Regions from separate parts of the Homo sapiens genome. Here regions 1, 3 and 4 are each linked to region 2. Evidence: promoter capture Hi-C in 16 types of primary human blood cells and fetal thymus (Javierre and others, 2016). All regions are on one chromosome and are shown on one strand. The core of a region is centred on a gene start or on the middle of the fragment in contact, and the rest is flanking DNA. Distances in the headings are between cores, read along the strand shown. Region 1 overlaps RNF145 (ring finger protein 145). Region 2 holds the start of FAM200C (family with sequence similarity 200 member C). Region 3 overlaps EBF1 (EBF transcription factor 1). Region 4 overlaps RNF145 (ring finger protein 145).

Region 1 (6,977 bases), core at 2,626-5,125, 1.2 Mb before region 2:
ATAGCCTACACCACTTAGTACACAGTCTTCCATCATATTGGATGGCTGAGAAACAATGACTATTAACTAGAACTTAAAACTGTTATCTACCTATATTTACTTTATAGGAGGACAGATTTTCATCCCTACTTTTTAAAGTGACAATGAGCAAGGGAACCAAGATGTATATTCATGTACTAGATTCTGAGAATGTGAGATTCAAACTCAAGAGTGGAAAAAATAACAAATGTGGATCTAGCAGAAGCTCACAATAAAATGGGAAAATGACTTAAATGACATGAGATTTAAAAAGACAAAACAAAACAAAAACCCCTAAATATTAAAAACCGAGTCTTAGAATTATTTTGGGTTAGTCCAAGCTTGACTAACCTGCAGCCCAGGACAGCTTTGAATGCAGCCCAACAAAAATTTGTAAACTTTCTTACAACACTATGAGATTTTTTTTTTGCAAGTTTTTTTTTAAAGCTCATCAGCTATCGTTAGTGCTAGTGTATTTTATGTATAGCCCAAGACAATTCTTCTTCCAATGTGGCCCAGGAAAGCCGAAAGATTGAACACCCCTGGGTTAGACAGTAAAGTACTATTATCTACCCATTTCACCAATTACCGGACTCTTTCTCGATACTGAAGTCAACAGGGACAAAGGCAAAGTATAGAGAGTAAGTCACAGGCTTCGAACTCAGGTGGGTCTGAGTGCCAGTTCTGCTTCTTTTGGCAGTGTTACCTGGGGCAAGTTATTCCTGGTACAGTTTCTTCAGCTATAAAATGGTAATTATAATAAAGGCACCTATCTCTTAGGGTCGTTGTAAAGATTAATGTGAGGCAAAGTGTTTAATGGTATGGTACATTTTAAATACTCAATAAATGTTATTTTTATAATATACTTTTTTCTGATTGACCCAATAATTTTAACTTGAAATTGAAAAAATACTTTTACGATTTGCTATGTACCTTTCCACAAATCATTTGCTACACTCTGGTCCATAGTGCAGCCAAATAAACCACATTATTATGTTAGCACCTCCCTGCATTGCCAAACCTAGGTATCCAGTGAATGAAAATCCTATCTTAACAAAATACGAAGTTGTGTAACATGAACGATAAAAGTAATCTGCAAAACTTACTATTCCTAGATCAAAGTTTTCTCTTTCTAAGGTTATATATAGTATCATAGGCTCTTATTAATTACCTTGTCAGAAAAAGGAAAAGAAGCCTCTCACGTGATGCAGGCTGATCTCGAGTACTGAAATAGGAGTAAATCTGAAGAGCAAATAAGACGAGCCAGAAAACCATGAAAAGAACAGGGACTACCAGTTGATTCCACAGGGACATTCCCAAGGCGAGAAGGCCATATACCTCCACTACCTAAATAAAAACGTAAGATAGGAAAACTTCTTGCATCACCATCAATAAACACTTTAAACACTTGAGTCAAATCAGAAGTAAAATATTAAATAGCTTTTCTTTGATTGCAAGACTGTTTCAGCTAAATTCCTTTAAAGTTAGCCTATATAGTTAATAAATAGCATGTTTTTTAAAACTTACTAATTTTGCATTATTATTAACACTTGACACACACTTATCTAATAGCACAGTAAACTGCCCTAATAGTTCAGGGATAAGGTCAAAATAAGGTCATATTCAGTACAAAATAACCTTAAAAGGTAGTTTGAGGAGACTTGGTAAACACTCATGTCTAATCAAAATAATCAGGACTAGCATGAATTGATACAACACTGCTTGAGGCACTAGGAAAAAAAATGCAAAAGTAAAAACTTTCAGGGTTTATTCAGAAATGTCACAAATGAGAAACAGTTCAATGGAAGAAGAGTACTTAATCACTGGAAAAAAATTTTGCAGAGCAAAGATAGTTAGCAAGTCTTTTTCTCCCATACACATCAATTCCCCTTCCTCCTACTGTGTTTTTATCAAGCTATGTTTTTCCATTTGGTTTGCCAAGTGTAAGTAACACTAGGAAAAGGATATATCTTAAAAAAAAAAAAGGCTTAATAATCTGCAACTCACTAAATTAGTTTTCCAGTTTATAAAACACTCTTCTTATGAAACTGATTAGGAAAAATCAATCACAGAATCTGATTCAATCTAAGAGCATAGGTGTAACCAAGTTTCTAGAGTTACTATGTCAGGGACCAGACCCTGGTGACACAGCAGGAATTCTGCTGGACAGCTTACAAAACCAGTATCTAGCAGTCAGCTGGTCTTGCTGGAATCTCTCAATGTGATACCAGAATGTTTCAATAAGGTATAAACATCTTTAAGTATTAAGTTAAAATAAATTGACTTGCAGATTATTCTAAATTTAAAATTCTTTCATCAGTAAAGCAAAGGCTTTTTCTACAACCCAGTCTATTAACTTCTATTTTCCCCAGTGACAAAAGATTAAAAGAAAAAGGAAACTGCCCAACTAGCTGCAAAATTATTATCAGGTAAACTCATCATTACGAGGCAGAGAATATTTTTCTTCCTTTCCATTCAAGAAACAGACCACTAAAAAAACCTGTCTGTTTCCATTTCTTGCTTATCTGATTCTTTCCTGGTCACGCATTTTATAACCTATATTTCCAACAACTACATCTAGTTGATGTATGAATCTTATGGCAACCAACTAAACATGACATTAAAAAATGAAGGCTGAGGTTATTCAATAAATATTTAATATTCAATAAGTATTTACTGAATATTCATTATTTATTACAAACAAAGATAACCCTCATAAGACTGAATTCAAAGAAAAAATATGTATCTTAAATTTGTCATTATTACCCTGAATACAACTATAACCCTTCCTGCCCTGCTTCCCCATGAAGCCACTCTTCACTGACTGTAGAAATAATCCCTTTTCTGGAAGATCTACTCCTGGGAAAACTGCCCAAGTTAATCACTGTGTAAGACGAAGATAGAATCAGGCTAAGGCCAAAAGCTTAGAGAAAGTATTCTCAAAGATCTGCCCCTGGGGCCACAAGAGAATACTTCACTTAGCTGTTATCAGTTTGTTCTATCTGAGAGCTTCCTGTACCTTAAGGACACAGTCAAGAGGTGGAAGACAGTGACATTTTAACACTCTCTTTTTATACCAATGTCAGGTTAAAATCTATTTTATATATTACAAACTATCAATTAAACCAAACAGAAACATTTATTTCCCAAATGTGTATTGTTTGTATCTGGGAGTAATTTATCTTAGAGCAAAGGCTGAAAAAAGTAGGGAAGAAACTTTTACAAAAAGCATGTTATGTTGGCAAAGTCAATTCAAGTACTATATCTAAATGAAATCTATCATATTATAACCCAGAACTATTTAACTTTTCTGTTTAAATTAGGCACACAAAGGGAAGAAACTATAGTCACAGTAGGACTATAATCAGAAGGAAAAAGCAGGATTTGACTTATAGGTATTCAATTCTTTATTATTTTTGTCTTCATTACAATAGCTAACACATATGGAACATTGTCTGCCTGGTACTAAACTCATTTAAATCTCACAGAACTCTATGAGGAAAGCACAGCTTTCATTATTAGCTCCGTTTTACAGAAAGTAACGCAATTATCACAAGGTTACACAGCTAGTGAACAGCAGCATCAGGGTTCGATCTCAGATAAATCTGCTTTAAGAGAACCACTTCACTTTACTGCCTTCTCAATAGAACATAATCAAGAATCTTTCAGATGCTCCTAATTGGGCTGAAAATAGCAGCTGTTTTGAAACTGCAAAAATGAATGGTACCATAACTGTGAAATAAAAATGAACTATAACTTTAATGTACTTAACATTTATGTAGAATTTTATCTACCTGTTTGTGGTTGTCAGCAGTCTTACCTGAACCAATTCTCTGTATGCAGATTTAGCAAGGTTATAAGGTACCAAAAGATTAGACCCAAGAAAATAGAGAACTTCCAATCCAGTAAAAATCATAGCAAATTTATTGATGATAACAATTGTCTCCAAAGGAACAAGGCAGAGTCGTGCTAGCAGAGGAAGCATGTGAGCTGAAAACAGCCAAATCTGCTTTGTTTTCATGACACAGGAGCATAAAGTACACACCACCAACTGACCTAAAATAGGGAATAGAATACATTTAATTTTGAGTATTTGGCATCCACAAAATAAAAACAAACAAAAAACACTGTTGATAAGGATAATAACACAACTTTTGAAGAAGTCTAACTAAAATCTCGTAGATAATATTTTAAATCAAACTTAAACTTCATCTGACTATAATTACATATTCACATGTTCTGTGAATTTTGAATACTAATTCTGTAGGGCTGATCTGGAAAGAGCAGCATAAATCTCCACTGGTCGTCTGTGATGCCATGTGTAATATGAAGAAAACTTTAAACAATGTCTAATTCAGTATTGTGACAATTCAGTTGCTAATGTTTATACATAACTTCTTTTCCAAAGGTACGCAATATTTAACTGTTCTGGTCTATAGGTGAAAGCATAAAATCCAAGAGATATAATTACTTGTTCAAGATCATACTGCAACAATATTTGTTCTGATAATTTTTTAATCTTTATTTTTGGAGGGCCAAGTAAACTGCCCCAAATAACTAAATCATAAGTTAAAACTAAAAACTAAATAAATTCTTCTCACTGGGGATTACGCATGATCATTACATTAAACACAGAAATACAAAGAACAAAATGGGAAACTCTCAGTCTCTTATAATCCCACAACCCAAAGGTAGTCCTAAGAACACCCTGGGGTACACTGAATGTATGTGACATGATATTTGCATTTAGCCCTTTCCAAATATTCCATAATTATAAAATGCTTTGTATGAATAAGCTTTTACATTATGACATCCTTGTATAAACTACTTGGAACACATTTCCTAATATTCTCTTAGGCTAGGAATTACTGAATCAGAAAAAAACATTTTTAAAGACTTTGACACACTGTCAAGACTGCCCTCCAGCAACAATTTACCAGTGTATAATGTGGCTATTTTTCTATTAACTTGCCATAGTGAGTATAATTTAGAGATGGGAAGAACAGGGAATATTTCCCAAATTTTTTAAATTGGCATTTTGTTGGTTACTAACAGCACTGAACATTATCAATAAGTATATGAAAACATTTGCAATTATTTGGTGAAATGTTCACATTCTTTGCCCATTTTTCTGCTAGAATACGTATCCTACTGCCTGATCGAAATAGTAATCCTTAGTCACATGATTGCATTTTTCTAATATGTCCCTTGTCTTAATATTTTAAATAACTTTATTCTCTTATAAAAGTATGTATTGAAAATAGTCAAACCATTTTTTTTCTTAATAGTACCCACCTTTAGTGCCATGGCTTATTACATGGCTACCCCACTCAAGATTATACAAATAGCTGTATTTTCTTTTAGTAATTTTTAGCTAATTTTTAATTTTAACTTAAAAATTAATACATTTGATTTATTGTGGAATAAGAAAATAAAGATCGAAGTTTGTTTTTTGTACATGTTTAGCTGGTTATCTCAAAACTGGCTACTGGAATCATCCATTCCTTTCTCATTAATTTGAAATGCCACTGTAGTAAACTCCAAAATCTTTTACATATTTAGGTCTATATAAGAACTTGTTACTTTTTGTTTTCAGTGATCTATTCTAATGATGGTACCACCCTGCTCCATCATACTGATTGGACAAGTCCTCTCTCATTGCTCCTTTCAGAATTTCTTGGAGATTACTGAATGTTATTTTCCAGATTAATTTAGAATAATTAATCATATTCTCTCACTTCTTGTCAATGAAAACCAAAATGAAAATTTGGGACTTGTTTGTATTCTATCCATATACATGTTGAATATTCCTAATCCAAAAATCTAAAATCCAAAATGCCCTAAAATCTAACATTATGCTCCAAGAAAATGCTTATTGGAGTATTTTGGATTTCAGATTTTGGGATTAAGGATTTCCAAACAGTAATATAATGCAGATATTCCAAAATGTAAAAAAATCAGAAATCCAAAACACTTCTGGTGCCAAGCATTTTGAATAAGGAAAATTCAATTTGTGTTAGAAAAATACAAAAATGTCAACCATTTTTACATAAGACCAAACACTTACAACAATCTACTATGTCATAAACACATACGGTATTTTATCTCACAAAGCATTAATTTTGGCCTTTAAAAAACTGATACTAAAGTAATGTGAAAAATAATCATAAAGGCATAAAGAAAAGAAAAACTCCTAATTATATAGAAAACAAGAGGCCACCAAATGATCTGGCTTTCACTGTGTTTATAGCTATGAAATTTAAATGTCCTTGTTGAGCACAATGTAAACTTCCTCTAAGCTCTGAAAATTCCCTTAAGTCTATGCCAGCACATGTGGTGCTCAGTGCTGGGGTTACAGGCTCCCTTTATCTTCTTTCATAGAAGAATATGACTCATATGGCGTATTTAAGAGAAGACTACTCCTGCTGACGTAAAAGAAGGAAGGAGTCATATTGTTAGTGGAATTTCCCCTGAAGTTCCAAAAGAATAAGTTGTTTGTCTTCTGATTTGCCTATTTCAACTTTTAACTCTGCATAAACCAAAATCCCAATGTACTCTTTAGATTTCAGGATTCCACTATTAGAAATATCTCCAAGAGGTTGGCAACCCTAAGAAATCATGGCATATTAAAATTACCTAGTTTTTCAAAAAAGTTTGTTACTGAAATGAAGAAAAACACCAGAAAATTATTTTAAAATCTAAGTTGGAAGAAAACATGCTCCTTAATAGTTTATGGACTTTGGAAAGTTGAATCTTAGTTAAGTAAACAGAAGACCATGGCCACTGATAAGAAGAGTTTTAAGAAATATGCTTCATATTTATAATACAAGTATATGCATCATAAACTAAAACTTTACAAGCTTTCTAACTTGGCAAATATCTTCATTATTGAATGTTACCGTTAATAAATATGCCAACTCATAACGATAGTCATAAAGCAACATTATTTTTGTCCTCTG
Region 2 (6,888 bases), core at 2,605-5,104:
TCCATGTGTACACATTATTTAGCTACCATTTATGAGTGAGAACATGGTAGTTCTTTTTAATAGTTAAAGACTAAACAGGTCTGTAATACTATTTGAACCTTGAGCAGTTTTGACTCCAACTTAGGCAGAGAATTTCAAATAGGTCTTTAAGTCTGATTAAGCCACCCCTGATGCAAAGGTAGGCTACAAATTGGCTCAGAGCTTCCTTGCTGCTAAGTGTAACACACTATCAGTCCATGATTCATAGTGTCCATATAAAAAAGCAAAATGGTCGGGCGTGGTAGCTCATGCCTGTAATCCCAGCACTTTAGGAGGCTGAGGTGGGTGGACTGCCTGAGCTCAGGAGTTCGAGACCAGCCTGGGCAATATGGTGAAACCCCATCTCTACTAAAAATACAAAAAATTAGCTGGGCATGGTGGCATACGCCTGTAGTCCCAGCTACTAAGCCAAGATCATGCCACTGCACTCCAGCCTGGGCGACAGAGCAAGTCTCTGTGGAAAAAAAAAAAAAAAAAAAAAAGCAAAACAACTTGCTCAGGGGAAACACAACTATTCTTGTTACCGAGACTTCAGAAAAATCCCTCTCATAGGAGAACACTCTTAAGTAAAATAACGAATTTCATGATGCTTTTCCACCTAAATACCTCTAAGGGAAAGCAGTCAAGAACACACACATGCACATACACAAAATAAGCAGCATTCCTAAGGTTTGGTTTAACCCAAAGACAGGATGTAGAAGGCCCTACCCATAGAGATTCTGATTCTCCAGCTATGGAGTGGGGGCCTAGAATCTGTATTGTAAGTATTTTAGATAATTCTTATAAATAGTAACTAGAACAGTGATCTGTGACAAGAGACACCATATCATCACAATCACTGGGAAACCCTTTCAAAATATACACGTCCCTGCACTACCTTAGAACTAATACATATCTTCTCCAGAAGCAGAACAAAAGAATATGAAATAATGTTGTTCAGGCAGTCCTGAAACACAACCTGGTTAAGTAGTCAGGCTTAGGGGAATAAAAACGTATCCTTCAAACCAATCCTTAGCTAACAAATATTCTAGGTTTCTAAGTGAATGGTCCCAATGCTTTAATAGATATTTAAATTTTCTACATTTTCTGAGTTGATGACAGCCTCCTATGAAAGTTGAAACCTAAAATGAAAGCCATATCTTTTCTCTTTCTCTCCCTTTAGCAACGAGTAAAGGCATAATCCACAGGTAGGCTCAAATATACCTTAGAAAACATTCTATCTCCAAGATAAGTAAGTGATCCCCAAAGTTTCCAAAGTTCTGTGCCAGAGAATGTGGCTGAAATAAAGTAACAGGTACACATTTAAATCTGAATGCCCACTTTGGACATTAAAAGAAAAATCACAAGCCAAGAATATCCACTTAAAGCATTAGCTTTCAAGTGGATCTACCAAGATGAACTAGTTGTAAAGTGTACTCCAATAAAATAAGCTGAGCTGTTACAAGGTTGTTATGAGCCTGTTAAATTGGAGGATGTCTGCCAATCAAAAAAGACAACCTGAAGTTTAAAGAGCTGATCTTAAGACTTCTTTTGTCAAGTAATGAGACTACATGACCACTTTTGCTTAGAACCACTTCTAATTAATGACGATAAAATTATGACATTACCATAAATGCTTATTTTTCTGTATTCTATTAATGTATATTTATCATGTAATATTTGGGGAGGAAGAGGGAATAAAGGAAAATGTTTTTAGTCACATTAGAAATCATTACAAGAGGGGCCCTGCACGGTGGCTCACGCCTGCTACCCCAGCACTTTGGGAAGCCAAGGCGGGCAGATCACTTGAGGTCAGGAGTTCCAGACCAGCCAGGCCAACATAGTGAAACTCTGTCTCTACTAAAAATACAAAAATTAGCTGGGTGTGGTGGCGCATGCCTGTAGTCCCATCTACTCGGGAGGCTGAGGCAGGAGAATCGCTTGAACCCAGGGGGCAGAGGTTGCTGTGAGCTGAGATCATTGCAGTGAGCTGAGATCACGCCACTGCACTCCAGCCTGGGTGACACAGCCAGACTCTGTCTCAAAAAAAGGCTGGGTACGGTGGCTCATGTCCATAATCCCAGCACTTTGGGAGGCCGAGGAAGGCGGATCACCTGAGGTCAGGAGTTTGAGACTGGCCCTGCCAACTTGGCGAAACCTCGTCTCTACTAAAAATACAAAAATTAGCTGTGCATGGTGATCCCAGCTACTGGAGAGGCTGATGCAGGAGAATCGCTTGATCTGGGAGGCAGAGGTTGCAGTGAGCCGAGATGATGCCACTGCGCTCTCCAGACTGGGTGACGGAGTGAGACTCTGTCTCAAAAACAAAACAAACTGGAAATCATTACAAGATCTGTTAAGAGTCCATTCCTATCCACCTTGACTATGTCTCTCAAGTATATTTTAATTTAAAATTTATCTGTTTTGAACAGTTTTAGGAAAATCAATTTAAAGTATTCTTCTCCATAACCCTCAAAAAGGGAGAACAGGTGGCAAGAATTTTCAAGGGCCTCAAAGATGAACTTACTGCCCAAGAGGCTTGTGTTTTAGAACCTCACAATTTGCACTTGCGCTTTTGTGGTATTTAGGAATTACAATATCCTAAAAAACGTAAACATTAAAAAGCATCATGATAAGGAGATATTGTTAAACAGGCATGATAATGGTATTGTGGTTGTGTTTTTAAAAAGTCCTCATTTGTTAGATACAGACAATTATTTACAAGTGAAATAAGATGTCTGGGATTCCTTTGAAATACGTACTTCAGCACACTCACAAACATGCACAAAGCGGGGTGGAGATAAAAGAAATGACTGGCCTTAAGTTGGTAACTCTTGAAGCTGGATGATGGGTATACATCATTACACCGTTCTATTTTAATGTATTTTGGAAACTTTCCATAATAAAAAGATAAAAAGCATTATCTTAAGATAGATATCACTCATTTTAAGCATGATTCTTTTGAGAGATTATCTTCAGATGCTTAATGAAAGATCTGATATAACAAAGTAAAATGTTTTTGCAAGTTTATGAAGGGTAGATATGAAAAAGTATTACAAATGAGAAAAATCAGTTAAAAGTGAACACTCACAAAACAAATATTTAGGGAATGCTAATATATATATATTCCAGCAGTGAAAACACCAAAGTGCAGCTGTAAACCTAAAACTCCAAACCAAATACAATTCAACTTCTTTCTAGCCACTGCGTATGCAAGATCATGATAGGCGCAGGTGTCTGGGGAGGCAGAGCATTTAACCATTACATTTTACAGTTAAAATCAATAGCCAGGAGAATGGGGGCAGGAACTTGGTGGCTGGGCAGACGCTCCAGGGGCAAACGCCTGGGATCGTGGCTTTGTCACTTACAGGATGGGACCTTTCCAAGCCTCAGTTCCTCCAGAGGGGATAACAGTACCTACCTTACAGGGTTGTTAGGAGATTTAATTATAAGAATGCATGCAAATAACAAGCAGCTCTTAACTGATAGGACCTGATGGTGTTACTGTTAAGGACGGAGATTTTTACAGCCTCCCGGGTGAGATAAGAACGCCAGCTGCTAGGAAAAAAAAAAAAAAGACTCAGCGCGGTCTCCGCCCGCCCGTCTCCAAGCCTGAGGCGCAGGCCTATGGGATGCACGGGCTTCTTTTAGGCGCCCGTTTCAGGCTCCAGTCCCACTCTCCGCTCAGCCTAGGGCCCAGCCTCTGGCCGTCGGAACCAGTAGAGACGGCGGTTCCTCGGGTCCAACCCCCGGGCAGGAATCTGCGGTGCGCCTGGAGAGAGAAGCATCCGCAACAACCTCCGCCTCAGCCAGGCCCGGGTTCCATCCGGGTTCTCCAGGGTGCTTCCCGCCCGCAAACTGGGAGAGGCGTCTCCCACACGCAGGCGCAGTAGCAAAGGGCTGTGGGATGGGCTGGCTGGCTTGAGTATTGAGCATGCGCGCTAGCCCTTCCCAATTTTTTTTTTAAGATTGTGTACGTGGAACAAGAAATCGTTTGTTTATTGTGTCTGCCAGAGAGGATGAACTGTACAATTTCAGGAATGGAAGGGGCTGTAAACTCCACATAGTTCTTTTTAACATGCAGAGCACTTAAACTTTTATATTGTGTCGGGCTTTGAGCTTGGAGATAAAACGCCTGATAATTGCCATGTTCCATGTGGAATAAATGAGAGAAAAAGAGAAGGAAGCTCATTGTAATTTCAGATTAGACATTTCAGCAGTGGAGGATGAGCTTCCATAGCTTGTGTACTGTTGCCTATGCAAGCTGATCCCACTTTCCGTAAGTGGGAGCATAGGGATGAATTTCCATGTCATCATCATATATCTGAAATATTTTTATTTTAAATTCTTTCAACAACATGATTTCAAAGAAATAAACCCATATTAGAGAGGTTTTAGAGAAAAATCCCAAGTAGAAACTAGGAAACGTTGTTGAAAGAAACCGGAATATAGCCCTTTCCTGTTTGGGGGTCTTTCCAGAATTCTTATAAACTTAATGAGTTTACTCATTTTTGTACAATCTTGTTAGAAGCATTCCATAAGACTAGTGTGTGTGAGGAGTGGTGGGGCGTCAACGAATGTGGGCCAGATACATCATTTTCAGGTGTTAAGGGTGAGCCTGGTAAATATTGACGGGCTGCTGAAGTTTTTTGTGGATGGAAGAAACTGCTAAAGACCAGCCTTGTTGGTCAAGAAATTAGGGCCTTCAATACTAGAGAAAGGGGTAGGCTTCAGAATCCCACAGCTAGCTTCATGTCCTGACTCCAACGGTTAGGATTTGTGCAGGTTACTTGGAGTTAATTCCATGTGCTTTTTGTAAAACTTACATATCATCCATTACCCCATGAAATTCTTTTGAGGAAGGAGATAACATTATGACAATTACAGTACATAATTCTCGCACTCAAAAGGCAGCTATTATTGAGATAATAAAATCAAAGCTCAATCTGAGTAATGTCCTAGGCATTATGTTTTTTTCTTTTTTTTTTTTTTTTTTTTTTGAGACAGGGTCTCATTCTGTTGCCCAGGCTGGAGAGCAGTGGCGCAATCTCAGCTCACTGTAACTTCTTGAACCGGGTTCAAGCAATTCTCATGCCTCAGCCTCCTGAGTAGCTGGGATTATAGGCGTGTGCCACCATGCCCAGCTAATTTTCGTATTTTTCATAGAGACAGGGCTCTGCTATGTTGGCCAGGCTGGCTAGGCATTACTTTTCCAAAATAAAACAGAAGACATGATTCTGGATATTACAGAATTCTTCCTAAATCTAAGTAAACCAGGCCTCATAGAAGAGGGAAAGAGGTCCAGAAAGGTTAGGTGACAAGATGCTGAAATTTTCTTAAACTCACAGAAGCTAATCCAGGTTCCCCTCCCTGTCCCATAAACAACTTTTCTGCCAAATATTAGAAATAATGCTACAAACCACTCACAGTTAAGTATTGTCATTTATGTATCTTTAACAAAAGATAAAATACAAAACGGACACAACATCAGCCTTTATGTTGAACCACCCTGTTTAGGTAGGAAAATGAACATTGTTTTTCATTCTTAAAGTAAATAGGAATTAAATCTATTTGCATTGCTGTTTAATTTCATACCAATCTAAAGCTCGACACTATGTATATCCAAAGTACTTGACAATTTGACTCAGTTACTCACACCACTGTTTCTGAGATGCTGACTTAATGCAGTATCCTACAGGTGGTTTTTGGTAGTTTAGAAAAGCCAGTGAGTGGGCTGTTAAAAGTTGATATACTGATGTCAGAGGTTTTGTTAGGCTGTTTTCACTGATTCTACTGTCAGTATTATCTTCACAGTGTTCTGAGAAGAGGCTTCAGGATCATGGCAATCTATTACTAATATCCCTAGAAGCTATCCTTATAATTCTTTCAATAAACCAACTTCAGGTTTTGTTTTTTTGCAAATTTTACAAACAAAGTAACAGCTGCTGGCTATAAATATTAGGATATTCTACAATTTAAAAAATCTAATATTCATGATTGTTACATAGGGGCAATCACAATGAAAACAAACGGTAATGTAAACCATATCCTCTATGATAAAGGAAAGGATTTCTACACCTAGACTTATGTCCAGAATGGTAAAAGACCTACTACTGATCAGTCAATATTGACCCAATGATGAGAAAATAGTTGTTTTCCATTCAAAGACTAACACATTTAGTCTACTCCAGAGGCCAAGGAAGAGAGAATCGCTTGAGCCCAAGACTGCAGGGCATTATGACTTTGTCTGTGAAAAGCCACTGCTCTCTAGCCTGGGCAACATAGCAAGATCCTGTCTCTAAAAAAAATAAAAATAAATGTAGTCACAGAGTTGCTAGTAATTATTTAAAAAAACAAAGCCCTGTTTTTTTCTCAAAACCAAGGTGTGCTAATACTAAATATAGGGCCACAAAAATCGAAGCAATAAAGTTTGAAGCTTAATAAATACAGAGAAAGAGACATTCTTAATAGGTAGAGAGCCAAGGCTTTTTTACATGACTCACATAAAACTGGAAATAGGCCAGGCGCGGTGGCTCACGCCTGTAATCTCAGCACTTTGGGAGGCTGAGGCGGGTGGATCACAAGGTCAGGAGATCGAGACCATCCTGGCTAACACGATGAAACCGTCTCTACTAAAAATACAAAAAATTAGCTGAGCATGGTGGCGGGCGCCTGTAGTCCCAACTACTAGGGAGGCTGAGGCAGGAGAATGGCGTGAACCTGGGAGGTGGAGCTTGCAGTGAGCCGAGATCGCGCCACCGCACTTCAGCCTGGGCGACAGAGCAAGACTCCGTCTCAAAAAAAAAAATAAATAAATAAAAAAAACTGGAAATAAAATCTTAATCCAATTTTAAATTCTATTCCCAAAAG
Region 3 (6,750 bases), core at 695-3,194, 1.3 Mb before region 2:
GGCTCCGGCAATCTCTCCAAAACCATCAGCTTTGTTTTCACCCCCAGACTCCAAACAACACATTTTCCACTGTGATGAGTTTACATTTTCCCAAACACAGGTCCTGATCATGCATAAAAATTCCAAACTTCTTCATTCCTCTATGTGCAAGGAAATTTAAATCACCTGCATTTTTGACATGTTACCAAAGGAGAGAGAAAGCTGCTGAAATATGGCCTCTGACTATAAACTTGCTGTGTCCTTTTTTGTTTGTTTATTTCCCCAAATATATGAAAGAAACTCTCTGCTGGCCTAGTGAATTCCTTGGGAACTTATTGATATACTGAAAATGTGTTTATCTACCAATGAAGAACCATGAACTGAAAGGGTTGTTAATCAAATCTATGTAGCCATGGCAGGATATAATGAAACAATCAATAGGAAAAAAATACACTTGCATCAATACCTTAAAGTACGGGGAAGATCAAAACAAATATATCAAGAAGTCTAGCTGGGAAGAGAAACCTGATAGCATTTCTGATGATTGTACCTTGGACCCCCCACTGTCCTGGGAACCTTTTCACGGTCTCCTCACTACATCATCTACTTTCAAATCCATACATACAAGGATTATGTGACTACGATTTCCTGCTTCTCAAGCAGGCTTTTGTTTAGGGGAAGAGTGTTTTGTTTTGATAACTTAATACAATTTGGTATCTTTTCTTTGAATTATAAAATATCACTCTTTTAAAGCAAGATGGTAAGAGGGGAGATAAGCTAAACTTAAAAAAAACTATTTAAAGATATATAACTCACTATAGCAATCACAGAATGTAATCATATTTCAAATACTACATGAAAATCTGAAAGGATGCCCACTAAACCTCAGACCTCCCCCACTGGATTCATTTGAGCTTCTGCAGTAGATATTGTTTCTGGATGCAGCAGCCATAAACTTCTGGGTCCTACAGGGCATTCTGCATGCTCACTAATGGAATACCAAAAACAGTAATGACACGAAAACAAACTATTTTTAGTCCAGCTAAACTTGGTTTTGAACAACCCTTCCCAAAAGCAAGCCTCTTATTTTCTAGTTGGTGGGTGAATTTTTAAAATATTATATCCTGTGTGCTTTACAATGAAGGCATAGGGATAAGGGATCTCAGATTCTTATATATTCATTTCTAATGAAGCTTCATCTTTCCTGGTAGAGTCCAAAAATTAAGAGTCATTACCCAAAATAGTCTAATGAGACACTTTGAAAAGGTGTGAAATACTGTGTCATACCAACACATCTTGGTTGATTGAGTACATTTCTTTTCTATCTCAATGCTGCTAATCCCACCCAAGATCAAGAACAGTTTATGGAAATGTAGAATGCAAAAATAGTTTTAAATTTTGCTTGTCCAAAATTCCTTTTGAGTTTTAACCCCACTTTCTAGTCAAGAATATGACATCACTCACATAAAGCTGCATCTCTGATAGGAAAAATGTTATAATAAACAGGCAGCTAAGAAAAGACACTTGAACAGTGGCTAGGTATTCCTTCCACAATTGATGATGTTATCAGAACTTATCAGACCAGAAGTGTTTCATTCTGTACTCTAAATAATTATCAAAATCCATAATGTATGAGGAAGAATTTCACAGGAAAAAAAAATGTAATCATTTAATCCATCAGTTTATATCAAGACTTACATCTGATTTAAGGAGCCACTGTATATTAAACTAAAATCAAAGATTCAAGAAATTTTAAATCAGACTTGGTATTTAATTATGATAGAATAATTTCAAGCTAGAGGAAAATTAACTGTTTTACTCATTAAGGCTAAATATCAATTATTTTTATGTCACACCTAGGGAAAGTTAAGCTTCTTCACGCTCATCTATCTGCTTTTTGGAGGCCATTGTATTAACCCTGTAGACAAGAAGCTAACCTACTTCCAAAACTCTTGCAGCACATAATCAAAGAACAAGCAATTGGATAATGAGTAGGAACTGCCTTTCAAAGTGAAAGCTACAGAGAGGTGGTTAAACAATTATTATGAAAGCACACAGGTAAGCTTTGAAATATTCCTTTTCCTGATATTTTTTAGACTTAGATAATTATTCAACCTTTTCTCAGGCCACTCCCCACCAAAATATATCATTGCATGCATTTATAATTTTGACTTTTACTGAGATGTCATATTATGGCAAATGACTTTCTCATAAGTGCTATTATCGAAAATAAAACTAATCTTGTTCTTATTCCTCTCTCTCTCTTTCTCTCTCTCTTCCTCCCTCTTTCCTGATAGAATTTATGACACCAAGTGGTCAAAGAATGCCTTAAGCTGCAGTTTTTCTTAAGCTCTATGACCTTGTTAGTAAAATGATATTTGATGTATTGCTTTAAAAATATCAAAAGATGATTCTCCCCCATTTTTATATGAGTATAAGGTAAGTTCATCCCATAATGGGAAAATCAATTAGTAGTGGCACTTTTTGACTAGAGAGACTTAAAATAAAATTTTGAGGAGGTTTAATTCATAGAGCGATTAATCACTTCAAACATGTCTTAATTCTGTGCTTCTTACAATTGTTCATTTCATAGTGCTACCTATAATTTAATATTTCATTGGTCAATGTTGCACAAGCAGACAGGCCTTATGTACTGATTTGTGTATGTGTGCCTTTTATCTTTTAGAAAGTAAATCCTAATAAATACACATAGAGTATGTCTTAGAGTTCCTACTTTCCCCCTCTCCCTCCCAACTTTTTTTTTTTTTTTTTTCCTGTAATGAGAATGGCAGGAAAGGATATCCAGGGTATCAAAGGCAATTTTTGAAAACAAAACTCCACTTAAGACATTTTTATTTTGACATCGCAAAAGAAAAAAAGTTATTAAAAATCAGGCTTTTGTGTTTCTGCCTTGGAAGGCAAAAAAAAAAAAAAAAAAAAAAAAAAAAACACAGTGTCCAAATGAAAGTGAATTATCCTATGCAATTATTAAATCCATTAAAGAAAATAAAACCAAGACCAAAAATTATAAATGGTGATTTACTCTGAGCAATCAACTGAGAAATAAACAGATTTTTAAGAAAGCCAAATATTTTAGGCAAATAACATGAAATATATTTCAATCTTTATTTTTATTTTAAAAAATAGATTTCATACTCTTGCTTTCTACTTGTGTCATATCGAAATATGAAAGTGATCATCAAAAATAGCTGTTAATAAATTGGTTCTTGAAGATTAGATTTTTAAAATGCCCAACAGCTTATTAATGTGACATTTCTACCACATATTTAAGCCGTGGTGTATCTAAAAATAATTTTTAAATATGCATATATACCCTAATTTGAAACTTTCTCAGCCAATATCTATGAAAGAAAATCATTTCTCTTATTTTAAAGGAAACATTCTAAAATCACAATCAAGTAAATAAATTTTAATCCTCTTGCTAAATTGCTGGTTAGTACACAATGGATAACTTTTTTCTTTGTTCTAATTTCTTTCCCCCACCCAATAAAGCTGTCTTCTTTTTTCTGCTACTAACTCCTCCAACTACCTAACCAGCTACTTAATTCTGAAACTAAACTTTTTCTTAAAATTAAGAAGAAGGGGAAAAAGCTCCTGTGCCTCATTAAAACGTCAGGCCTCTTTTCTGACTCGGCTCATAATTGTATCTTTTAAACCATAACTCAACCTTAATGTATACTGCTTGACACCCGCGTGTTGGGAGCTTAAGAAAATGCCGTCTATGTACCTTTAAGACCACAAGCTCACTCATGCTGCCTGGCTTCCTGCCAAACTTGGAGGCAAAAGCAGGAGGGTTTTTGCAAAATATCCTCTAACAATTGTCGCTCCCTCTTTCAACACTACCTTCACCATCATTCCCTTTGAAAACAAATCTGCAGAATGGTCATCTGCGCTCTCAGCCCATCTCATCATTCCTGGGGAAGCCGCCTCTGCCACCCCTCCTCCGCCCCCTCAGCCCCTCGCCCCTCTGCTTCCCGGGGAGGCCTGGCTTGCTTGGGTTTCAAAGGTTCAGCCCACTCCGCACCAGGGTCCCTGGGCACCTTTGAGCCCTTCGGGGCTCCCTGGCCGGGTCAGAGGAAATTCAGCCCTTTTTCTCGCCACTCAGCACCCTGCAGTCTTAATTCACAAGGCCCGAGTTCCCTTGGAGGGACGCGCGCGCGTCGAGCCCTCATCCCCACGCGGCGGTGCAAGCGCATGAATGGACACTGGAAGGCCGTGCAAGTTTGGTCTGAGCCGCCCCCGCTGGCTTTTAGAGTTAGAGTCCCAGCCCACCTGCGGTGGAGCAACTAGCTTCTTGACTGCCCTGAATTTTGTGACATAGAGCCCCCCGTGGCCCAAAATCAAGAAACTTACTTGTTTTGTCATGGAGTCAATGAGGCGCACGTAGAAATCCTGCTCCGTCCTTATCCCTAGGGTTGGAAATGGGGGAAGGGAGGAGAATTAAGTGAGAGGTTACGGAGGGTGGGTGGACAATAATTAACAACAACAAAAAATAACAACAAAACCCCCACACACATATCACGAAAGGGGCTCCAAGGCTGATTGGAACTCCCACTGTCCTGGAAAATACAGCCACGATCTCCCTTCCCCAGTGTCCAGAGAGGTGCTGCTGGCCTTGCCTTAGCGCTCCTGGAAGCCAGACGCCAAGTTCTGCAGCTGGGACTGGGATGGGGGTACCCCGACTTGTCTGTTCTCACGGCAAGAGTCCCTCTGCTCTCGCACACAGCCTTCAAGGCCATGACCCTTCAGCCCCTAAGCCCAAGGGGCCATGGGCCTGCAGCCTGGGCCAAGCCAAAGGAACAGGCCTCAGGAAGGGGAGGAAGAATGAAAGTGGCTCAGGGAGGGATGAGGCACTACACCTGGCCCCAGGTAAACGCGAGACCGATAAGGCTCTTGGGCCACTAGGAGCCTCCTCAGGTGAAACCTCCTGGGGCGAAATTTAGGAGAGGCTGGTTCACCTCAAATAAAGCGGATGACTGACCTTCGCTGGAGGATTTCGTCCACCTGGAGCTCCCTGCGCCCCCTGCCCAGACCCGGAGCCCCAGGGTGAGGCCATAGACCCGACCCGGGCCTCACCATTGCTGTAGAGAAGCTGAAGCCGGTAGTGAATTCCGTTATTGGTCTTTTCGCTGTTGGCTTCCTGGGTTGCATCAGGACGCAAAGACACAAGAGATGCAGGAGAGAGGTCTGCGTGAGCGAGTGGACCAACTTTCGAGGCAACTTTCCCCAAGCCGGGACCCCCGCTGGCGAGCCAGGCAGCCACGGTAGCAGCAGAAATTGTGGCCAATTGTGATCCCTCCTCCGCCCCCTGTTCCTGACTGCTCCCTCTCTCCCAAAAGAAAATTCCGTCGGGCGCACACAGGCTATCCTCTTTCCAGGGCCTAGGGGCTCGTGCCCCGGCCACCAGAGGCAGGCGGTGCGTAATCTGGTAGTGGAGGGCGGGTTCATTCCGGGTGCCCATGGCTGTGGATTGTAGAGCCAGGCTTGCCTCTCTCTAGCTCTGGGGGCTCCGTGCGAACTTTTCTGGAGAAGGAGCCAGTGGACCAGGACCCTGGGTTCGTCTGGGATGGGAAGTGGCTTGGGGGACCCCCACATAGAAGTGTGTTATGGATGCTTTGCACTCAAGGAAGGGCGCGCTGCCCAAGGCTCCCGGGCCTGCTCCCGAGCCGAGCCGGGGACGAGGGGCGACAGCGCTGCGCCCACTTACTTTTTCCTTCTCCACGAACCCCACAAACGCTGTCCTCTCGATCTCCACGGGCTGGCCCTGTCTGTCGTAGAGGGCCAGGACGAAGTGGAAGAAGTTGGATTTCCGCAGATTGGAAGGCGGCTGCTTCTCAAAGTGAGCCCGGGCCAGACCCACCCCGCTGCGGCCAAAGACGCAGAGTTAGATGGCTAAACCGGACGCCGACCCGCGCCCCTTGTCACCCTGTACACACACTCGAACCCTCAAACACCCACCTCCTCTTCCCCCAAAACATCCAGTGGGCGCTCTTCACGCCCCTTCAGGCGACATAGACCCAGCTGACAACGGGACACACATGTCCCCTCATGTCCTCGTCCTCTCCGCCAAGGACGGGTGCGTCCTCAGAACTCGCTGAAGAGGTGTGAAAGTTTTGTTTGGGTTTTGCGCGCGAGATGAAACTCTATAAGCATTTACTCCTACCTGACACGCACTGCGTGGGGAGGAAGAAAAGTGGCGGTGGATGAAGTGAACCCACCTTCGCGGAGTAGAACCCACAGTTATATTCCGGCACCCCTCGAATCTCACGTCTCAGCTAGCAGGGCAGGTGGGAATGGATGGAAAACATGCTCGGCGTCTCGCCGCAGCAGCCACCCTCCAGGAACCCCTCAAGCTCTGGCCAACTGCGAGTGCCCGGCCTTGGGAAGCCACATCCCCCCACCACCAAAAAGCATGTGGAGAAGGGTCCGAGGGCGGGGCTCAGAACTGTCGCGGGTGGTCGCTGTGAAAAAGGGAAGAGGGGTGTTTTCTTAAAGACCTGTCCTAACAAAGTTTCGCTGTTCCGCAGAAATCCTCACACTCATTCCAGAAATCCTAAAGGCCAGGGCTGCTGGCTCAGTGCGCCGGCCGGCGATGGGAGGCTGGAGCGCCTGGGGCGCCAGGCGGCCACTGACAGCCGGACCTGCCCAACACAAGCGCGCACAGGCACACACACACACATAGAAGAACACACACGAGCGCCCCGCGCACACACTTTCACTTCCAGCCCAGTTACCCAATTCACTCTCACT
Region 4 (6,169 bases), core at 1-2,500, 1.2 Mb before region 2:
AGTTGCTGAGGTTGAATTTTCTTCACAAACCTCTATAAAACATCAGCAGAGAACATATAAATACATTTTGATTAGCATACATTGCAAAATTTCTCCCACAATGTCAGGGGATGAAAGCAGGTGGTCCCCACTGAGAGTACTTCCTGGATTAGATCCTTGGAATGTCAGTTTCCTGCCTGATCATCTCATTTTCATTCCTCAAATCAGAACATGAATTCCATCTTGAGTTAACTTCTCCTCCAGAGTATCAAAGCATCATTCCTGCTGCTTCTCCTCTAGGCTGATTCAACAGGATGTGCTTCATCTTTCGCACTGTGAGGATATTCTTTGGGGTCAAAAGCCCCTTCCTGGTTATCTGGTCGTCTGGCAATGTACTCATTATTGTCCCTGGAACCTTCCTGTATCCTGGTCCCTGGAGTATGCTCCTGGCCTGGGGGTTCAGTACCTTCCTGAAACATGACGTTTTGCTCAGCTCCAGCATGAGGCTGTAGAACTGGCTCAGTTCCTAATCCTGGAAGCTGGGAGGAGTTTTTCAGATGGCAGTGGCACAGAGGGCAGGTCTCCTGGACATACAGCCATTTCTTAAGACAGCCTGCATGGAAAAAATGACTGCAAGGCGTGATCACAGCAGATTTCATGTCCTAAAAGAGGGGGAAAAAAGATACCTTATAAATGTCTGTTTTCTAGTATCTTTGGTGCTATCCCCAAAGTTCTGGTTCTAACATCTCTTTCCCACAATAGAAAATTTGTAACATAGATCTTAGAATAAAACTTACTTTATATATCAGTAATAATCCTGCTGCCATCACAGATCCCCCTTATACAAATAATGCAAGAACTACTGGCTAAGTACTTTCTAAAAGTGAAGGAAAAACCAAAAATGAGGAAGAAGCTACCTTTATAACTGGGTTTTGCCTGAGTATGAAATGCAAGTGTTACACAATTGTTGCAGTATGATTACTGGGTCTCCACTGGTATGACAAGAGTATAATTACAACCTCAGAAAATCTGATGAAGACAGGACTTTTTCTACAGTTTTGCTTCAACACAGCTGAACAGTTTATAATGAAATTATTGGCAAAGAGACAAAATCGGCCATATAATACCAGGGTATTGGCAAGGAAGTGGCACTCTCTCATTACGGACAATGTATATACCCAGTTTTCAAGATTTGGTCTATATAAGCCAGTGTTTCTCAACTTGCATAAGAACCACTTGTTAACACATAGTCTTGGGCCACCCAAGACCTACTGAAGTGGGATATGTAACGATGGGATTCATAAAATCTATAGTTACAAGCCACCTGTGTGACTTTTATACACTCACATTTGATAACCACTGGAATAAGGAGTGGTGTACTTTGCATTAATATTCCTTGCATAAGATATATATGAAGAGAGAAGCCTGAAGACATGAAGTTAAAGTTATAAAGACATAACGTTTCGTGAATCAACCATTAATTTTGTTTCAAGTCCCAAAACAAGCAGGTGTGGATATCCCAGAAATTCCTTGCCAAGAACTGGTAACATCTGGGAGTCAACTTTTAAGCAGAAAGCCATCCAAGGAAAAGCAGCCAGCTGGGAAGCTAAGCAGTTTTACTCTCATTTTCGATGTGATATCAACAGGTAGTTCTAGCACCTCAAAAAAAGTGATGTGACAACAGGAAATACAAACAGGACTCTTGAATCCCCGAGATGGAATATTCAGACATCAGCGGCTGAAGCTGAGGTGCTCCGACTCTGTTTTTGATGTGCTTTGTCCTGAGTACAATGAGGCTACCTAGCACAAAAGAGCTAGGGTTCATTTTAATAATAAACACAACTAAGAGAATGGCTACTTTGAAGGGAGGCAGGAACCCTACATTACTCCTCAGACCCCTCAAATGCAAAACCGCCTGGAGAACATTGTTTAGCTAGGATCAAAAAGTATGTTCTAATCAAAATAAAAAATTGATAGCTGTATTTTACTATCAGAAAAAAATTAAATATGCACAAATTTAAATATACACAAATACATACATACCCCACCTAAACTACAAAAGCAATCCTGAAGTAAGAATATCCCCTGTATATTGTTGACACTATCTATAGTTTTATTCTACCAGCCTACACTCTTTGAGTGACTTTAAAAATGGGACATAGTTTCTGCTGTTGGCCATCATCTCTGTCCATTATTTCCAACAGTGCGGCCTCTTGCACAGGTGATTGATGATTAAACTCTAGGTCTTTTTGTTGTTGTTTTATTTCCAAAGTGATTTAAGTACTACCTTTAATTTGTAATAGAAGACAATCATCAGGCTCTTTATGGTGCATGTGCTAAAGACTATAGGTAGGCCAACTTCAATTTTACATCAGTTTGGTAGCCTTTACCATATTCACCCACTCCCACCAAATGCTTGTACCCTCGGATACTTAGCAACCCACAGGTGGGCACATATTCTCTCTACCTATGTTAGGTACATGAATATTTCTTCCCCACTCTGGAAATACTAGAGGGAAAAGAGTCAGAATTTTGGCACACCACTTTTCAGGAGTTGCTGACCCCTCATGGATAGTATATTCAATAGTCCGTGTGAGTGTGTATTCAGGAGTAAATATAAAATGCACCTGACCTGTTTTTCCTTTATTTATGGGTGAGCAATAATGTTGAAAACAACAATACATTAGAACCCAAGGGACTAAATTTAAAACTTAATTTAGAAATAAAATGGAAATATTTTATCAGGTCTTTAATATAATTTCTGAGGTCCATTTTTTTTAATCCAGAAGATAATTTTGCCTAGAAATTTAAGTTGAATTTGGTTAATATGGTTACAGTCCCAAGGGATACACTGTATGACTTACCCAAACACATTCTTATTGAAGGAGTTACCTGATAACAGATGGCACAAATATCATTGTGTTTCTCAAGCTGCTCTTTCGTAGCAATGGGTAACGATTTAATCTTATTCACAGCATCCCTGCGGAGAAGAAAGCTCTTCCACCCCAGCTGGGCCCGAAGCCACACGTTATAGTAGGAATGAATGAAGATGATCATTGAGCCCATCACTGTCCATTCTCCAAAGATGGTCTCTGAGACGCCATAGGCCACCACACAGAGGGCCACAAGAAACTCCAGCAGGCGGTAAGTGCCATTCACATAGTAGATGACATCATCCATGTTTTCCACTGGCTCTTTTCTGAATTCCTCAACCATAAATAAGACATAAATAAAAAGTGTTCCCAGAACCTGAAAAAAAAAAAAAAATGTACGTATCTTGAAATATGATCACTAAGATACTTTTTTCATAGGCTTTAAACAATAACACATTCCTGATGTTTTTAGGGTGCAATATTTCAAATATACAGAAGAGTATCCAGGGGAAAAAAAAGTTTTAATAAATAAAAAATCAACTCTAAAGAGAAGACACTGATGACTAAAATGTGGGTGATCTTAGTAATCCAGGCATAGAAAACAAAAAGCCACACCGTCAGACGTGACTTTCCTAAAATGATTCTGATGAGTAATCAATTTTTTGATTCATCTTTTTCCCTTATTCCTTAGGTCACCAAACCTCATCAACTCCATCTTAATTTTCCTCATACCATAGTCATTCCTGTTCTACAACTCGCAAAGAAGTTTTACTTCTGCAAAAAAATAATGAATAACTCTTCACTGTGTTATGTTTTCCTTTACCTAGGTAGCAAAGATCTTCCTTTAAGTTACAATAAGCTTATCATTTCTAGGGCAATATTTTGTGTGTGCATGTCTGTGAAACATGTATCATGTCTGTATGTGTGCAATACACACACATCATATACATATATATTTATATACATCGTGGAACTATTGGTATTTTTGAGTGGAATTTAAAAAACACACTCCAAATAAGCTCTAACACAAGCTCTAAAAACTTTTAATATTTTAGTTACTTGTCAATTTAAGATTTATATGACACCTCTGTATCATACCATTTTGAAAAAGAGAAACTGAAAGGCTTAATTACCTTCATAAAAAATACAGTGACATCAATAGGTTTATGTAATATTTTCTTTTTTTTTTTTTTTTTTTTGAGACGGAGTCTCGCTCTGTCGCCCAGGCCGGACTGCGGACTGCAGTGGCGCAATCTCGGCTCACTGCAAGCTCCGCTTCCCGGGTTTACGCCATTCTCCTGCCTCAGCCTCCCGAGTAGCTGGGACTACAGGCGCCCGCCACCGCGCCCGGCTAATTTTTTGTATTTTTAGTAGAGACGGGGTTTCACCTTGTTAGCCAGGATGGTCTCGATCTCCTGACCTCATGATCCACCCGCCTCGGCCTCCCAAAGTGCTGGGATTACAGGCGTGAGCCACCGCGCCCGGCCGGTTTATGTAATATTTTCATAACCTGCCATCTAACTCCTGTGCTCAAATAAATGTAATGTGTTCTAGTAAAGAGAGAGAGAAGTTATCACCTGAATAGTCCACTTATAATCATTCATCTTGAAAAAATTTAATTCCTCCTCTGGGAGGAAAAATAACAAAATTGGTTATTATATAGAGTTAATTAATCATAGGCTTACCTGAAGAGAGGTAAGAATGCTGCTGGAAATAATGATAAGAAGCCAAAAATCCATGTGGAAAAACTGGCAAATCATATAAGCCATATAAGCAGGGAATACCAATAAAAATAAACAAAGGCTTACAGCACGGAAGTGTTTCCACAAGCTCCTGGAGAAAGACAAAATTATTCTTTTTAAGTGCCTGCCACCTAGTAGCACAACCACTCACATCAGCAGCTAACATCTCTGGTGCCATGATCAAATTTCACAAATTCCCACTGAACACCCTTCTCCATGCCAGTCACTGTACTAGAGTTCAGACCAAGTCACACAGGCTTGGCATGTCAAAGCCACCACACTCAGTCAATTGCAAAGTACAGCTGATTTTCTTTTGTTCCTCAATAGTTTGCTTTCAATTGCTACTCCTAGCAATTTCAAATTATTTCAGGCTTTTGTAGCCTTAAACCTTAACAATTTCAATAATTTTTCCTGGTTAAGACAGGGAGGGAGTATTAGAATAATTTGTGGTCTTTTTCAAATCTTATGACACCCTCTTCCCACTGTTTCCACTTGTGATGAGAATCTCTGCTACAGAGAGTGCAGTGTGACTAATAGGAATGACTCTCCAATGAGCAGGTATACTCATCCTCACATCTGTTGTGGTCAGGGTAAGTGGGAGACATGACTGAGAGCAACTGTATTGTAAGATCTACTACCTGGTTTTCCTCCCTCCTCCAGCCCTGATCTATCCAGGACACTGCCAGCCAGACTAATCCTCCTAAAGCTCTACTATCGTAATATTTTCAACACTGTCTCTAAATTTTTGAGCCTGGCATTTGAGGTCCTCCACTCCTAATTTTTCCATCCAAGCTTGTCAAATCTGTTCCTCATAAACCAAGCTGCTTATTAACTAACTGCCCTCTCAGCAAAACACAAGCACTCTTACGTCCCACTAGAAATTCCTCCATCATGCTCTCCATTTCTCTAAACCCTTTAGGCTAGTTCAAGCTAAACAACTTTGGCTTTCAATTGAAATAAAGCTCATGGCTACAAAAAAATTTAAGCTGTTTTAATTAAACATCAACATCTGTGATATGTTCTCAAATCCAAGTAAAGCATCTCAAAGAGACACAAATAACATAAATCATCTCTCCTACCTTTAATTATAATATAGTCAGGAAGTAAAAGTTACCACACACAAGGTCAAATGCTATACAGTGTGGTCCTATTATAATCAGTAATTCAGAGAAGAAAGTTAATTATTATGGTAAAAATTAAAGCTGCATACTTTGGAAAGTGTTTTACATTTTTTCTTGCCAAAAACTAATAATAATAATAATAATAATCAGAAATTAAGGAACAAATGTAAACTTGTCAGTAGCTTTGCTTTGAGATTCAGCAATTTTAACTTTTTAAAGAAAGGCAGTAGCTGTACTGTGTTAGATGATGAATTATAGATCTAATAGGGCAATCTGCCTTAAAACCTTAAATATATTTTTTAAAAATCAAGCCAGCTATGATTTATATGAAATATGTACGTATTTATAAACACACATGCATAGATTTAAGCACACACACAGAAATGTATATACAACAATGTTATGTCAAGAGTTTTACATTTATGCCTAATTTTAATACAGGTGGATATATACA

What was found. Contacts are between HindIII fragments. The CHiCAGO score rates a contact against its expected background, and 5 or more counts as called.
Region 1: a fragment that was not itself captured here is called in contact with the fragment with the promoter of FAM200C in region 2 in 1 of 17 cell types (total CD4 T cells); the score reaches 6.1 in total CD4 T cells.
Region 3: a fragment that was not itself captured here is called in contact with the fragment with the promoter of FAM200C in region 2 in 2 of 17 cell types (total CD8 T cells and total CD4 T cells); the score reaches 5.9 in total CD8 T cells.
Region 4: a fragment that was not itself captured here is called in contact with the fragment with the promoter of FAM200C in region 2 in 2 of 17 cell types (total CD4 T cells and fetal thymus); the score reaches 7.5 in total CD4 T cells.

What each region holds. Positions count from the first base shown.
Region 1 is chr5:159,172,794-159,179,770 of GRCh38, forward strand. RNF145 (ring finger protein 145) reads right to left here. Exons shown (of 11, transcript NM_001199383.2): 5 at 3,839-4,074; 6 at 1,190-1,365. Among named protein-coding and RNA genes, the nearest start is that of RNF145, 33 kb to the right of the region's middle. The HindIII fragment of the contact is 1,873 bases long and covers 2,940-4,812 here.
Region 2 is chr5:160,396,200-160,403,087 of GRCh38, forward strand. FAM200C (family with sequence similarity 200 member C) reads right to left here and starts at 3,855. Exons shown (of 2, transcript NM_022090.5): 1 at 3,440-3,855. SLU7 (spliceosome associated SLU7) reads right to left here. Exons shown (of 16, transcript NM_006425.5): 16 at 5,442-6,888. RefSeq lists enhancers at 1,997-2,496, 2,816-3,501, 3,395-3,544. The HindIII fragment of the contact is 7,568 bases long and covers 1-6,452 here.
Region 3 is chr5:159,091,267-159,098,016 of GRCh38, forward strand. EBF1 (EBF transcription factor 1) reads right to left here. Exons shown (of 16, transcript NM_024007.5): 2 at 5,708-5,864; 3 at 5,077-5,140; 4 at 4,354-4,409. Among named protein-coding and RNA genes, the nearest start is that of EBF1, 5.3 kb to the right of the region's middle. RefSeq lists enhancers at 1-640, 4,499-5,392, 6,287-6,750. The HindIII fragment of the contact is 192 bases long and covers 1,849-2,040 here.
Region 4 is chr5:159,158,395-159,164,563 of GRCh38, forward strand. RNF145 (ring finger protein 145) reads right to left here. Exons shown (of 11, transcript NM_001199383.2): 9 at 4,538-4,685; 10 at 2,872-3,228; 11 at 1-641. The coding sequence ends at 276. Among named protein-coding and RNA genes, the nearest start is that of RNF145, 48 kb to the right of the region's middle. RefSeq lists an enhancer at 2,738-3,937. The HindIII fragment of the contact is 4,917 bases long and covers 1-3,709 here.